5 separate regions of the Homo sapiens genome follow, and all the other regions are linked to region 1. Evidence: promoter capture Hi-C in 16 types of primary human blood cells and fetal thymus (Javierre and others, 2016). All regions are on one chromosome and are shown on one strand. The core of a region is centred on a gene start or on the middle of the fragment in contact, and the rest is flanking DNA. Distances in the headings are between cores, read along the strand shown.

Region 1 (2,626 bases), core at 41-2,540:
CTAGGGTGAGCCTGAAACCTGGAGGCTGGGGGTAGCAGTTGGGATTTACCCAGCACGCTACTTTGTTGGCCCCTGGGGAGGTGGTGCAGCCAGGCGGGTAAGGAGGACTCGCGCCATCAGCGGGGTCTGAGACATGGTGTGCCCAGTGGGCAGAGAATAGGCCTGTGGTTTTTAAGAACCTCACTGATATCGAATGTGTCTTGGAGTGAGAAAGTTTTTAATGGAAAAGGAGCAAGAGAGAGTAATGAAATAATTTGCTAAGTGCCTACTATGTTCCAGGCATTTTACATCCACAGTCTCTTTCAATCAACACGTCCATGCGGAGGAGAGCTTCTTGTCGCCCATTATAAAGGTCAGAAACAGGCTAAGGGAGGATAAGTCACTGCCTAAGGTTACAGTGCATGTAAATGGCAGAGCTAGGATTCGAACCCTGGCCTTTCTGAGTTCCTAAAGCCATGCTCGCCCCCACTCTTCCAGGCTGGGGAGAGACCGGGAAGAGCGAGAAGCTACACGCTGGGCTGCAGATTGGGCCCTAGCGGGCTTGGAGCGTGGATATGCTGGCTGGCCCCCCTCCCCGGGAGTCACAGCTCTCGCCGGTCTCGCCACTCAGGCTCTGCCGGGTACCCAGGAGGCTTGCACGGCCGCCTGCAGCCCGCTGTGCAGAGCCCGGGCCGAAGGCGGAGCTCGATGGGAAACGGCCGGCCGAAGGCTCTTGCAACTCTGCCACAGGCCTGCCTTCCCGGGCCTCCCAGGCGGGTGCCTGAGGCCGCGGCTCCAGGCCGAGGGGAGACCGCAGTGAGACGAGCATCCCCTTGCTGCGCCTTCTTAGGATAGAGGGTTTAATTTTCCTTTCTGAAGATATCGCAGGAAGCTGTTCGTATCTTAAAAACTCCAAACCCCGCGCTCTCCCTCCTCCCTGCCTCCCCCCCACCCCCGCCCTCCAGCCTCGCCCACCAGCTCCCACCATCTCGACTCTCCTCTGCTCCTCTTGCCTCTCCCCTCCCTCTTGGGTCTCCCGCCTTCCCGGAGCACGCGCTGCCAGGGCCTGGGGCGCCGAGCGGCCAATGGCACGGCGGCAGGACGTGATGTCAGGCGCGGCTGTAGAAAAGGCGCGGAGGCTTGCGCTGGCGCGGACTGCAGAGCCGGGGCTGGGCTAGGCGCGCGCTTGGAGAGCATTGCGCGCGGCTGGGCCCGCGGCCGGCGGCTCCTCCTCCCACTCTGCTCCTCCTCTTTTTTCTCCTCCTCCACCTCCTCCTCCGCCTCCTCCTCCTCCTCTTCCTCCTCCTCTTCAATTCTCCCGGTGGCTCGACTCGGCTCGCAGGCTTCGGAGAAACCCCTACTCCAGTCGCCGACTCAGCGCCCAAGAGGGTCGCCTTGGGCTGGGGGCGCACCCCAGGGAGGGGAGGGGTCCAGGCAGCTGGGCCGCCGCGGACACCTAGCGGCTTCAGGGTGAACCCCGACCGCAGCCGTCGCCGCCTCGGGCAGAGTTTGCGCCCTTGCTTTGCGCCCCGGGCGCTGAAGCCGGGCGGGCGATGCCCGCGGCGTGAAAGCGCCCGCGGCGGGCGCCGACCTCTGTCCTAGTCTCCTGCTCCCCCCGCCCCGCTTGTCCCGTGCCCTTGTGACCCTGGCTTTGGCGCCGTCGCCCAGGCGCCCCGCAATGTAGCTGCCCCTGCGCCTCGGCGGGAGGCGTCCTGCCCCGCGAGCGCCCGGGGCCCGGAGCCCGGCCTGGGGGCTCAGCCGAGCTCGGGCGGGGCCGGGGCCGCGGTGGCGATGCACCGGGCCCGTTAGCGCCAGGAGCGCCAGGCAGCTGAGGCGGGGGGCAAGCCCTCCCTCGGAGGAGCCGCGCCCCCGGCCCCGCCGGTCCCGCCGCGATGCTGTTCCACAGTCTGTCGGGCCCCGAGGTGCACGGGGTCATCGACGAGATGGACCGCAGGGCCAAGAGCGAGGCTCCCGCCATCAGCTCCGCCATCGACCGCGGCGACACCGAGACGGTAGGCGCGCGGCTGTGGGGTCGGGGCTGAGAGCTGGGATGGGGCCGGGCCAGTCAGCGCCTCTGCTCCCCGAAGTTTGGGGAGCGTCCTTCGTGCCGCACGGGACTGGGTGCTGGGGATCCTCGGTCAGAATGCAAGGCCGGTGGCTCCCGGTTCGGGGGAAACCCGGCTGCTGGGACGCAGAAGGGAAACAAGGTTGAAACCGAAATCTCGGCCCTGGGGGTAGAGGAGAGCGTTTCTTCCGAACTGGAAGCGAAGTCCCATCCGCGGCCCGGGGCGGCTCCCTTCTCACCTTGCCCGGTGCCGGGGTCGACAGCCCCGCGCTCTCCTCCACCTCTCGGCTCCGGTTGCTGGCGGCGCCGCGAGCGGCGCCAGGGAAGGGCGAACCAGCTGGGAGCATTGGGGCTCCAGCCGGCTTGGGCCGCTCCCAGCTTTCCGGCAATCGGGGATCCTCCTCAACCCCCAGCGCAGTTTCAGAGGCCGAAGTCTTCGGGGCCAACATTTGTCGTTGATCGCGTCCCCAGACCCTTGACTGGTCAGACTTAGCCAGGCCAGGGCTGGGAGTTCAGGCTCCGGCCTGGCCCTCGCCGAAGGAGACTCCATTTGGATCTCTACACCTGGCTCCGCGGGCCCAG
Region 2 (2,626 bases), core at 39-2,538, 360 kb before region 1:
TGGGTGTTTGTGCCCTGAAATTATGAACTGCACGTATGGTGTAAAATAAAATGTAAAACAAAGCAAGAGGTCTACTATAGGCTATTCTTAACACATACTAGGCAATTAAAAAAAACTGAGTTCTTGATGAGCAATCAATAACCAAAGAAATAATAAAATAATGAAGGTATAATAAAAACTGTAAGGAAAACTCTAGTAGTCTCAGAGAGTTTTCATTATTAGGTGCCTTTTATTCATAAGTAAACACATAACTTGATTTTATCCATAGGCCCTTCATTAGGGAACTCTCCACTTATAAAAATATTTTTCTACTCTCTCTAACAGAGGGATGCCTATTAGGCATTCTACTCCCAGTCAATTTCTGTATATAAGTTTTGTCTACAAACAAAAACAACAACAAACTCAGCAAACAGATATTGAATTATTTAGGGGAAAGTAAAGTGACGCCTGTGATTTACTTTGAAATGCATAAAAAATAAGATGGATCACCTGTAATCCCAGCACTTTGGGAGGCTGAGGTGGGTGGATCACTTGAGGTCAAGAGTTCGAGACCAGCCTGGTCAACATGGCAAAACCCCATCTCTACTAAAAATACAAAAATTAGCTGGGTGAGGTGGTATGTGCCTGTAACCCCAACTACTTGGGTGACTGAAGCAAGAGAATTACTTGTACCTGGGAGGTGGAGGTTGCAGTGAGCCGAGATAGTGCCACTGAACTCCAGCCTGGGTGACAGAGTAAGACTCTGTCTCAAAAAAAAAAAAAAAAAAAAAAAAAGATGGATTAATGGATGCTATGGATGATAAATAGTTGAATAAATACATGATAAAGCAACTGATACAATGTCACTAGTAGAATTTAGATGGAAGTATATCAGCATTCACTGTAAAATTATTTCAGCTTTCTATAATGGCTTAAGAATTTTCATAAAAAATATTGGGGAAAATGTGAACTCATACTTAGCAAGTGAAAAACTAAAATAAAAGGAATATAAAAATATTTATATTATACACACAGCAAAAGTTATATAGAAAGTTCATTATAATTAATAAAAAAATCAAGACACCTATAAAATAAATGTGAAAGGATATTAACAAAATACAAATAAAAAAATAAACCCATGGAAAATATTCAGTTACCTCTAACCAAAGAGGTAATTCTAAAATTAAAGCAAGCCTGAAATACCATAGCACATCTACTTTCTTAGCAGAATTAAAACACCTGAGCACATGCACGTACACACGTGCGCACATGCGCGCACACACACACTCTCTCTCTTTCCTGGCAAAGCTGCGGTGAAAATGGTGCACTCATCTACAGCTGGCAGCCTTCACTGTAAACAAGCACCGCCTGTTTGCAAAGCAATTTGGCAGTCCCTAAGTCATAGCGCTTATCAAGCCCTTTGACCTAGTGTCCCACTCCTTAGAATATAACTGTAACAGTCAAAAGAAGCCAAAAGATGTTCATTGCAGTATTATCTACTAAAAGGATTAAATCATAATGAACAACCTAAATGGCCATCAAGAGAAGGATTTAGTAAATAATGACACACCCGTATCATGAAATATGGTGTAGACATTAAAAAATGACAATTGAAGCTCATGTAGAAACCTGCAAAATGTTCATAACACACAATCAAATGGAAAGCTATTTATAATTGACTGTGCGACTACAGGAATAAATGAAATGTGCATTGGCACTGTAAAAAAAAAAAAATGAACAATTAATGAAAATGACATGCTGCCATATAAGGGGACTGTAGCTGACTCCTTTTTCTAAAATTTTCTTTCATCTTGCTGGTGTATCTTTCAATTAAAATTAGATCATTAAAAAGCCAGTCTTAAGACTGTCTACTCACAGTGCTGAGTTTGCTGCAAATGATGAGTATCCGGCGTTCGTACAGCATACTGGCGTACAGATGCAACATGTTGTTAACATCCACAGCCACAAAATATTCTGTCAGATTTCTCTAGGAGAAAGAAGAAGGCACGGTTTGTGGCTGATTTTCTTTGTTCTTATTATAACTGTATCTAATAAGAGCATAAGAAACATAAAATAATCAGAAAGTATACTCTGTTCTTTCCCTGTCCTTTTCTTTCTACCTGGGAGGCCAAATCCCCACATGTGTAAAATCATGAAGGGTAAAGTTGGAAGACACCTTACAGAGGAAGGAGCCTGAGCAATTACATCTTTGTGTGGTGATTACAACATGAGGTCGCATCCAGCACTTAGGTCAGTTCCTAAAGGTGAGCAGAACAGGAATTCTACATATCTTACAAATGAGGAAACCAAGACTCAAAGAGATTCTCCAAGATGGAACAGTCTAATAAGCAATGAAGACAGGACTGCTGCTCAAATCTTTGGGCCCCAGATCCTAGAACCTTCCCGATGTGCTGTGCCATACGCCTAAGCAAAAGAAAGTACCCAGGGACCAAAATGCTTCTGGCACTGAGCCTGTTTCTGTGCAGGAGATGCCACCCACGAAGGCCAGGCGAGCTCCTCTCCCGTCATCACTGCTGGTATCCCCTCCTTCACAGTTTACATTTGCTAAAACGGCTCAGCTGGAATTAAGGCAATTTCGAACATTTACAATTTCCAGGTATTTCACTCAAAAGGGGAAAAAAAATTG
Region 3 (2,626 bases), core at 40-2,539, 310 kb before region 1:
ACCACAATGTCTCAATTACTGTAGCTCTACAATAAAACTGGAGATCAGGTAATATGTGTCCTCCAACTTTATTCTTCTTTTAAAAAGTTATTTTGCCTAAGTTCTTTGCCACAAAAATCTTCATACAGATTTTAGAATCAGCTTGCCCAATTCTGAAGGAAAAAAAGGCCTGGTGGTATTATTGCATTGACTCTATAGATCAATTTGGGGAGAACTGACATCTGTATCAGTAACAGTCCTCCAGAGAAACAGAATAGACTATTGTATGCATGCGTGTGTGTGTGTATAAAGAGATTTATGTTAAGTAACTGGTTGAGGCAAGTTTGAAATCTATAGGACAGGCCAGTGGGCTGGAAACTCAGGTAACAACTGATGTTGCAGTCCTGAGTCCAAAATTTGTAGGGCAGGCCAGCAAGCTGGGAACTCAGGAAGGATTTTTAAATTACAGTCTTGAAGCAGAATTCCTTCTTCTCTGGAAAACCTCAGTTTCTGCTCTGAAGGCTTTAAACTGATTGGATGAGGACCACCAACATTATGGAGGGTGATCTCCTTTACTAAAAGTCAATGATTATAAATGTTAGTTAGATTTAAAATACCTTCACAGTACCATCTATACTAGTGTTTGACCAAATAATTAGGTACCATAGCCTAGACAAGCTGACACACAAGATTAACCATCATAACATCTTGACAACATGGAATCCTTGAATCCATCAGCCTGGTATATCTATTTAGATCTTTTTAAAAAAATGTATCTCAGCAATGTTTTGTATTTTCAGTGCACAGGTCAGGCAAATATTTTGTTCAATGTATCCCTTGGTATTTCATATTTTGATGCTATTATAAAAGCTTCTGTTTTATTAATTTGAACTTACAATTTTAATACCAATTTCCTTACCTCACACTACATACAAAAATTTATAGAAATGGACTGAAGACCTAAGTATAAGAGATAAACCTACAAAATGTCTATAAGACAATATAGGGGAAAATCTCTGTGCTCTTAAGTTATGCAGAGATTTCACAGAACACAAAAAGCATGAACTCAGAAGTAAAAATTGATAGAAGGTAGAGCAAAATGGCAGAAATGAACTCTCCAGGGATTATCCCCACACAGAAACATCAATTTAAACAGTTCAAAATACCCTCACAAGAGCTAAAGAAACCATGTAACAGATCATAGTGCCTGGTTATAGCACAATAATAAGAAAGACACATCAAAGAGGGTAGAAAGGACAATTTTGCATTACCCATGTCATCCCTCCCCTTACCTCAGGCAGTGGAAAGAGATATCATCTGCCTGGGGGAAAGAGAAATAAGTCTAAGACTTTGTCTAGGTCCCCAATACTGAGCCTGCCACCATAAAACCCAGCATCAGGCAGACCTCTAGGGCCTCTAACTCCAGGCCGACACCTGTGAACTGAGCTTCTAGACCCACCCCAGCACCAGAGACCTGCAGCCCCTATAACACAGATTTGAGTTCTGGCCTGCATCACTGCCAGCTGACTACAGTGGCCTTAGGCTATGAATAACCCACAGCAACAGGCAGGCTCTCAGCAGCCAAGAGCTTCAGGTATATCCCAGTGCTGTACCAGCCTTGGTAGCCATGGGCTTAGCATGCTAAGCTACCACAGCTACAGCAATCTGAGGATTAGGGACCAGACCAGACAACCTGCCTAGAAACTCTGAACAGGCTTACTTTTGAAGGAGGTTCCAAAACAAAGCCACAAAAGCTTACAAAGACTGGAATAAGTACCTACTTCTTCAATGTACAGAAGGTCAATGCATGACTACAAGGATCAGGGAAACACGTTGTCACTAAACAGACAAAATGAGGTACTAGTGACTGACCATAAAGAGACAAAGATGTATGTACTGCCTGATAGAGAATCCAAAATAGCTATTTTAAAGGTGCTCAATAAACAATTCAATGAAATGAGAAACATAATAAGTGACCAGAATTAGAAATTTAACAGAGCCTAAAATAATTTTTAAAAACATTTTTCAGGAGTTGAAAAATACAAAAATAAATAAATAAATAAAAACGCAATAGAGAAAATCAATAGCAGACCTGATTAAGCAGAAGGAAAAAAATCTGTGAAGTCAAAGACAGGTTATTTGAAAATATACAATCAGAGGATAAAAAAGGAAAAAAAAGGAACGAAGAAAGCTTATGAGATTTACGGAATGGCATCAAAAGAGCAAATGTATGAGTTGCTGGTATTCAAGAAGGGGTAGAGAAAGATAAAGAGGTAGGAAAGCTTATTTAAATAAATAATAGCAAAAAATATACCAAACCTACAGAAAGATACAAATATCCAGGTACAGAAAGGTCAAAAGCCTCCAATCAGATTCAATTCAAATAAGACTACCCCAAGATAGAATCTAATCAAACTGTCAAAGATCAAAGACAAAGAGAAAATCCTGAAAGCAGCAAGACAAAAGAAGCAAATAATATATAAGAGAGTTCCAAGACACCCAGCAGCAAACTTCTGAGAATAAACATTATAAGCCAGGAAAGACTGCGATGATATATTTATAGTGCTGAAGGAAAAATACTGTCAACCAAGAATACTGTACCCAGCAAATCTGTCCTACAGAAATGAAGGAGAGAGAAAGATTTTTC
Region 4 (2,626 bases), core at 67-2,566, 290 kb before region 1:
CTCAGAGTCAATTTAAATTACTAATAATCAGGAAACCTACATGACAAGACATCCATTAAAGACAACTACTAATAAAATAAAACTAAATATCAAATCGGATCATGGTACGGCTGGCTCCTGGGTTATAATTTAAGCTTGCAAAAAGTACAAACGAATGCAGTGGAGGTACTGCTCTGAAGAACAAAATTAATTGCCTTTGTGACTTCTCCTAACTCACAAAACTCCTTCAGGGAAGTTACTGCTTTTTTAACAAACAGTAGCCACTTTAAATCCCAGATGCTGTGAGTATCACGTACATGCTTGACGGGGCAGAGGCAAGGGGAGTAAATTTTTATTTAAACTCCTCAATAAACAATGCCAACATTTTTAGCAGGGCCCACCTTACTATAACCACATGAACCGTTAAGTGCAAATGACTAATCTAGTTTTTAAGTTTGATACTAATAACTTGGACTAGTTAATTGTGGTTACTTTTTACTTTTCCTTTTGCCTTCTAAAGTTACCACCCAAAATATACTGAGAAATAGTAAATACATAGTCACACCGCGCCTAGGAAACTTAGCAGTATTACATATAAAATTTATTTGAGAGACCCGGTGGCCAGGCAACCCAGATACTACTATCAGATCTGGTCAGATAGTTGGCAAGTGACAGCCTCTCTGGGCGTCATTAGTAAACTGAGGGACAAAGAGGATCTGACACTAAGCTTGACTGTAAAATCATGAGAGTGGAGAGGTTCTTGATCACCACTGCAGTCCTGTTTGTTGAAAGAATGAATGGGGTCTATACCATGGGCCATGCCTTAACTAGGAGATACGTATAATGTATGTGACTCATTTAATCCTTATAACAATACTCTGAAGGGGAATGATTATCCCCACTTTACAGATAAGGAAAGAGAGATAAAAAAGAAAGGCAACTGTACAAGATTACACAGTTACTGGGTAGAGTAAGGATTCCAACCTAGGTTTGTCTGATGCCAAAACCTAACGTACTTCCTGTTTTCTTCCACTAAGAGAAAAATTAATATTTCTGAGAAATGGAATTATTCTAATTATACTACACAAGTCTCAAATCATTTTAGCTCATTATAGAAAAGAGGATATACCTCCAGTTTAAATTCCTAAGCCCTATTTTAATGTAAGGCTTTTATATCTTGTTCACATTTATGTAACCTAGTGGGCAGAGCATCATAGGAGCCCTTGACAGTCTCCCAGAGGTTGCCCTGTGTCCACTGCATTTCCTCACAGACTTTGCCAGAGTACACAGTTTGTTCCCTACCACTCTAATCAGTTGCTGAAATGCTAAACAGTGTGTAGTTGGAATAGCCCCCTATCCCTCCAGCATGCATGGTCCAAATTTTTGCAAAGGAGCTACAAAGGCAATTTTGGAAACATACAACTCTTAACAACTCTCCCATCTGGTTTTCACACCACCTCCTTCCTCCATAAGCCCACAGAAGTCACAGTCAGCTCCTGTTTTCTGGGAAACTAGCTGTCTTTTCATCTTGCTGGGTGTATGTTATGTCTGTCTGTCAGCAAATTGGGAAATGGCCTCCATCCTGACAGATACATTTTGTAAAGCCTTAAAAGCACATACACTAATGTGAAGAAAAAAAGAACTTTTTCTATTTTGGACTCTGGCTATTTGCTCTTTATAGCTGAAGTGTCAAGGGAATGGGATTTCCCAGGTAGACGTACTAATGTAAAATGCATTAGTGTTAAGGTGGGGGCTCCCAATCCACCCAGGGCCAAAGGGTTAATACAAAATGACAGAATTTAATGACTGCTATTATGGTTGCCAAGCAACCAAAAGAAGGTGTGCCATAAAGGCCTAATTAATGAATGAGGTAGCAAGAGTTTCTGTTAAGTTGGTAAGCAGTTCACAGTTCACCATTGCCTAGCTTTGCCCAGATGGTAATACTCTTAAGCTTTCTTAGCTCCACTGAGCAGCAGCAAAATAATGTGATTATAGTTGCAGCTCTGGCTAAAGTTCTGACATCCTTTCCATACTCAGTGAAATTTCTTAAGTCAGTTGAAACAACAGCCTCCTGTAGATTCACAGTGAGGATTGTATGCTTGCATTTTGTTACTCATATGAGATCCAGGTCCAGAAGAACACTGGAACGATTCTCTTCTGGACTCTCTTGGCTGCAGGAACATTAAGACTCATCAAAATTTGGGACTCAAACTGAACTGCCATTGGAACTACAGACTCTGTTGGGACAATGTTCTTTTCAAAGGCAAGCCCAGACAACAGTAACAAAGGACTACACCCAGAGTGTCCACAACTTGCTAAGCTCTGTACAAGTGGTAATATGGTTTGGCTGTGTCCTCACCCAAATCTCATTTTGAAATGTAGCTCCCATAATTCCCACATGTTGTGGGATGGACCCGGTGGGAGATAACTGAATCACAGGGGCAGTTTCCCCCATACTGTTCTCGTGGTAGTGAATAAGTCTCACGAGATCTGACAGTTTTATAAGGGGAAACCCCTTTTGCTTGGTTCTCATTCTCTCTCTTGCCTGCCGCCATGTAAGAAGTGCCTTTGACCTTCCACCATGATTGTGAGGCCTCCCCAGGCATGAGGAACTGTGAGTCCATTAAACCTCTTTTTCTTTAAAAAT
Region 5 (2,626 bases), core at 61-2,560, 280 kb before region 1:
CCCAAGTAGCTGAGACTACAGATGTCTGCCACCAAGCCCAGGTAACATTTTTATTTTTTTATGTAGAGGCAGAGTCATTATTAAGTTTTTATTCATATTTTAGCAAGATAAGTTATGGAAATACAGGATGTTACATTCACCCCAAAAGGAGAACTACTTTAAGATTATGTGATACCCTGAAACCAACAGAAGTCACCTATTCAGAGGAAATTGCCTGTTTAAAATACACAGATGACTACTCATTTACATAATAATTTAACTTTCTTTATCAGAGTTCAATATTGCAACTAATTGTTTAATTATATGTCTGCCTTCAGATCCTGGGCCATGTGAAAGTGGGGAAAGTGCATGTCTCGGGGATCACTGCATCCTCAGTGTCTGCAGTGGAGTATAGGACACCTACAGACACCAAATAACAATACACGTTTCCTTAGCCTAAGTCAAATAAGGCACCAAGTTTGGGATGGGGGCAAGACAAAAGAATGGGAGGAACATGGACTTCAGAGTCAAACAGAGCTAGGTTCAAATACTGACAATATCAGCTAATAATGATTCTCTAAGGTTCCTTTTCCTCTTCTGTAAGACGAGGATAATTCTTCCTCTGCGGGACTGCTGTGAAGAGTGGAGGAGAGAATGCACGTGAATGTTCAGGGCACTTGGTTCTAGACATATGATGGGTGTGTATTACAGCAAGTTTCTGCCTCATCCTCTCACATGAGCACATCCCAAGAGAGGGCTTGGGAAAATAATTTTTTTTATTTTTTAAAAAAAGCCGTGTTAGCTTTCAAGTTGTCACTAGGTAAAACTTGTGTAGGAACCAGTTACTACTACCAGGCAGCATCATACGTTATGATTTGATCCTCGCTACAATCCTCCAAGGACTTATGATTGCTCTCATTACGTAGATGGAGAAGGAGAAGCCAGAAAAGTTGGAGATGCTCATGGAGATGTTGCTGGGAAAAGAGGAGATGGGATTTGAACCTTCTGAGTTTATATTCTAAGCTTTTCTCCCCCCAAGAAAATCAAGGAAGATATCAAAGGGCACATCTATCTAAAGGCTCAGTGAACTTCCCAATATTAACCAGGTGATAAAAATTAAAATACCCCTATTTCCACTATGACCATTTCTAGATGTTCTAAACCAGCTCATCCAGGAAGGAACGAGTTCATGGAGTCCCCACTATATATCAGACACTCTGCTGAATAATTTGTACACTCTCTCTCTCTCGCAACCCTTTGAGGTGAGTCCTTATCTCTGAATGTCAAAGATGACAAAAATAAGTTGCAAGATGTTAGGTAAGAAGATCATAAGTGGGCAAGAGCTGGTAAGCAAATGCAAACCCCTCTGACTCCACAGCTCACACTCTCTGCACTCACTTGCAGAGACTTCCCGATGCTCCCATGATCTCTGAAGTCCTAGTCAAAAAAGCCAGCATCATGATTTCCTCAGGTCGTCCGTGACACATACCACACTCAGTATTTGCCTGATATTCTAGAAATTGTCCTCTCATGAGTAACAAAACAGTAAGTGGTGAGATGTTTCCTTTTTTAAAAGTTTTTATTGTTAATCAAGAATTCTGAATTCCCAAAACAACAGTCACCTTTTAGAAAAAAATACTGAAGCTTGGCTGGGCGTGGTGGCTCACACCTATAATCCCAGCACTTTGGGAGGCCAAGATGGGTGGATCACTTGAAGTCAGGAGTTCAAGACCAGCCTGGCCAACATGGTGAAACCCTGTCTCTTCCAAAAATACAAAAATTAGCCGGGCATGATGGTGTACACCTGTAGTCCCAGCTACTCGGGAGGCTGTGGTGGGAGAATTGCTTGAACCTGGGAGGCAGAGGTTGCAGTGAGCCGAGATTGTGCCACTGCCACTGCACTCCATCCTGGGTGACAGAGTAAGGCCCTGTCTCCAAAAAAAGAAAAAAGAAAAATCACTGAAGCTAGCTAGTTAGACTGCACCTTCTCTACCAATGTACTCATAGCTGGATAAGTAGTTCTAATGAGAACTAAAAATCCTTATAGTAACTATACACACCAATAGCAGTTTTGTCTTTATCAAGGCTAAAGGTACAAATAAACAAAAGAAGGTCTTCAAGTCAGTGTATGAGAACACATGACCTGTAAGAGCTATGTTGTAAGCTCAGAAGGGCTAATGTTATCATTTCCATTTTCTGGAAGGAGAGAAGCCCAGAATCATACCCAAAGTCAGAGTCCAACAGGCTCCGGGCGGAGTCTAGATTGAGGGTCTCTCTGCCAACTTAGTGGTTCTTTCCTTACTACATCAGAATTCCAGGCCAGGTCATGCTATGATGTCACAAGGAAAAAGTCCCTTGCCCTGTGTCTTAGCTTCCTCAGGAGAGCTGTTAGGGAAGGTAAGAGAACAGCATAGAGTCACTGTTCCTATATTTTAAGGAATAAATGAGGCCTCATATTTAATGTCCTATCTAAAAGTGATGACAATGCTGATAATAAGATACAATTACATTTTTTTTAGAAATACTGCCATGCATTAGCAAGACTGCACTAAAACTTCTGTAATCCCTCTGATCATGCATCTCAAACACATTCATGGGAATAAGAAAACAATTGTCAAAAAAATGAATTATGGCAATAAAGCCCTAA

The links. The method cuts DNA at HindIII sites, captures the fragments that hold promoters and counts their contacts. A CHiCAGO score of 5 or more calls a contact.
Region 2: a fragment that was not itself captured here is called in contact with the fragment with the promoter of LHX2 in region 1 in 1 of 17 cell types (monocytes); the score reaches 5.7 in monocytes.
Region 3: a contact is called between a fragment that was not itself captured here and the fragment with the promoter of LHX2 in region 1, in 5 of 17 cell types (monocytes, M1 macrophages, megakaryocytes and 2 more). The highest score is 7.6, in monocytes.
Region 4: a contact is called between a fragment that was not itself captured here and the fragment with the promoter of LHX2 in region 1, in 2 of 17 cell types (M0 macrophages and M1 macrophages). The highest score is 7.4, in M0 macrophages.
Region 5: a contact is called between a fragment that was not itself captured here and the fragment with the promoter of LHX2 in region 1, in 4 of 17 cell types (M0 macrophages, M1 macrophages, M2 macrophages and 1 more). The highest score is 8.3, in M0 macrophages.

Annotation. Positions count from the first base shown.
Region 1 is chr9:124,010,478-124,013,103 of GRCh38, forward strand. It overlaps LHX2 (LIM homeobox 2), which reads left to right and starts at 1,291. Exons shown (of 5, transcript NM_004789.4): 1 at 1,291-1,991. The coding sequence starts at 1,872. RefSeq lists a silencer at 1,215-1,264 and an enhancer at 2,203-2,626. The HindIII fragment of the contact is 7,434 bases long and covers 1-2,626 here.
Region 2 is chr9:123,650,158-123,652,783 of GRCh38, forward strand. It overlaps DENND1A (DENN domain containing 1A), which reads right to left. Exons shown (of 24, transcript NM_001352964.2): 9 at 1,856-1,966. Among named protein-coding and RNA genes, the nearest start is that of MIR7150, 170 kb to the left of the region's middle. The HindIII fragment of the contact is 4,820 bases long and covers 1-2,626 here.
Region 3 is chr9:123,700,123-123,702,748 of GRCh38, forward strand. All of the region lies in intron 5 of DENND1A (DENN domain containing 1A), which reads right to left. Among named protein-coding and RNA genes, the nearest start is that of MIR7150, 220 kb to the left of the region's middle. The HindIII fragment of the contact is 884 bases long and covers 848-1,731 here.
Region 4 is chr9:123,716,528-123,719,153 of GRCh38, forward strand. The region is part of intron 5 of DENND1A (DENN domain containing 1A); the gene reads right to left. Among named protein-coding and RNA genes, the nearest start is that of DENND1A, 210 kb to the right of the region's middle. The HindIII fragment of the contact is 1,224 bases long and covers 705-1,928 here.
Region 5 is chr9:123,734,091-123,736,716 of GRCh38, forward strand. The region is part of intron 5 of DENND1A (DENN domain containing 1A); the gene reads right to left. Among named protein-coding and RNA genes, the nearest start is that of DENND1A, 190 kb to the right of the region's middle. The HindIII fragment of the contact is 621 bases long and covers 1,001-1,621 here.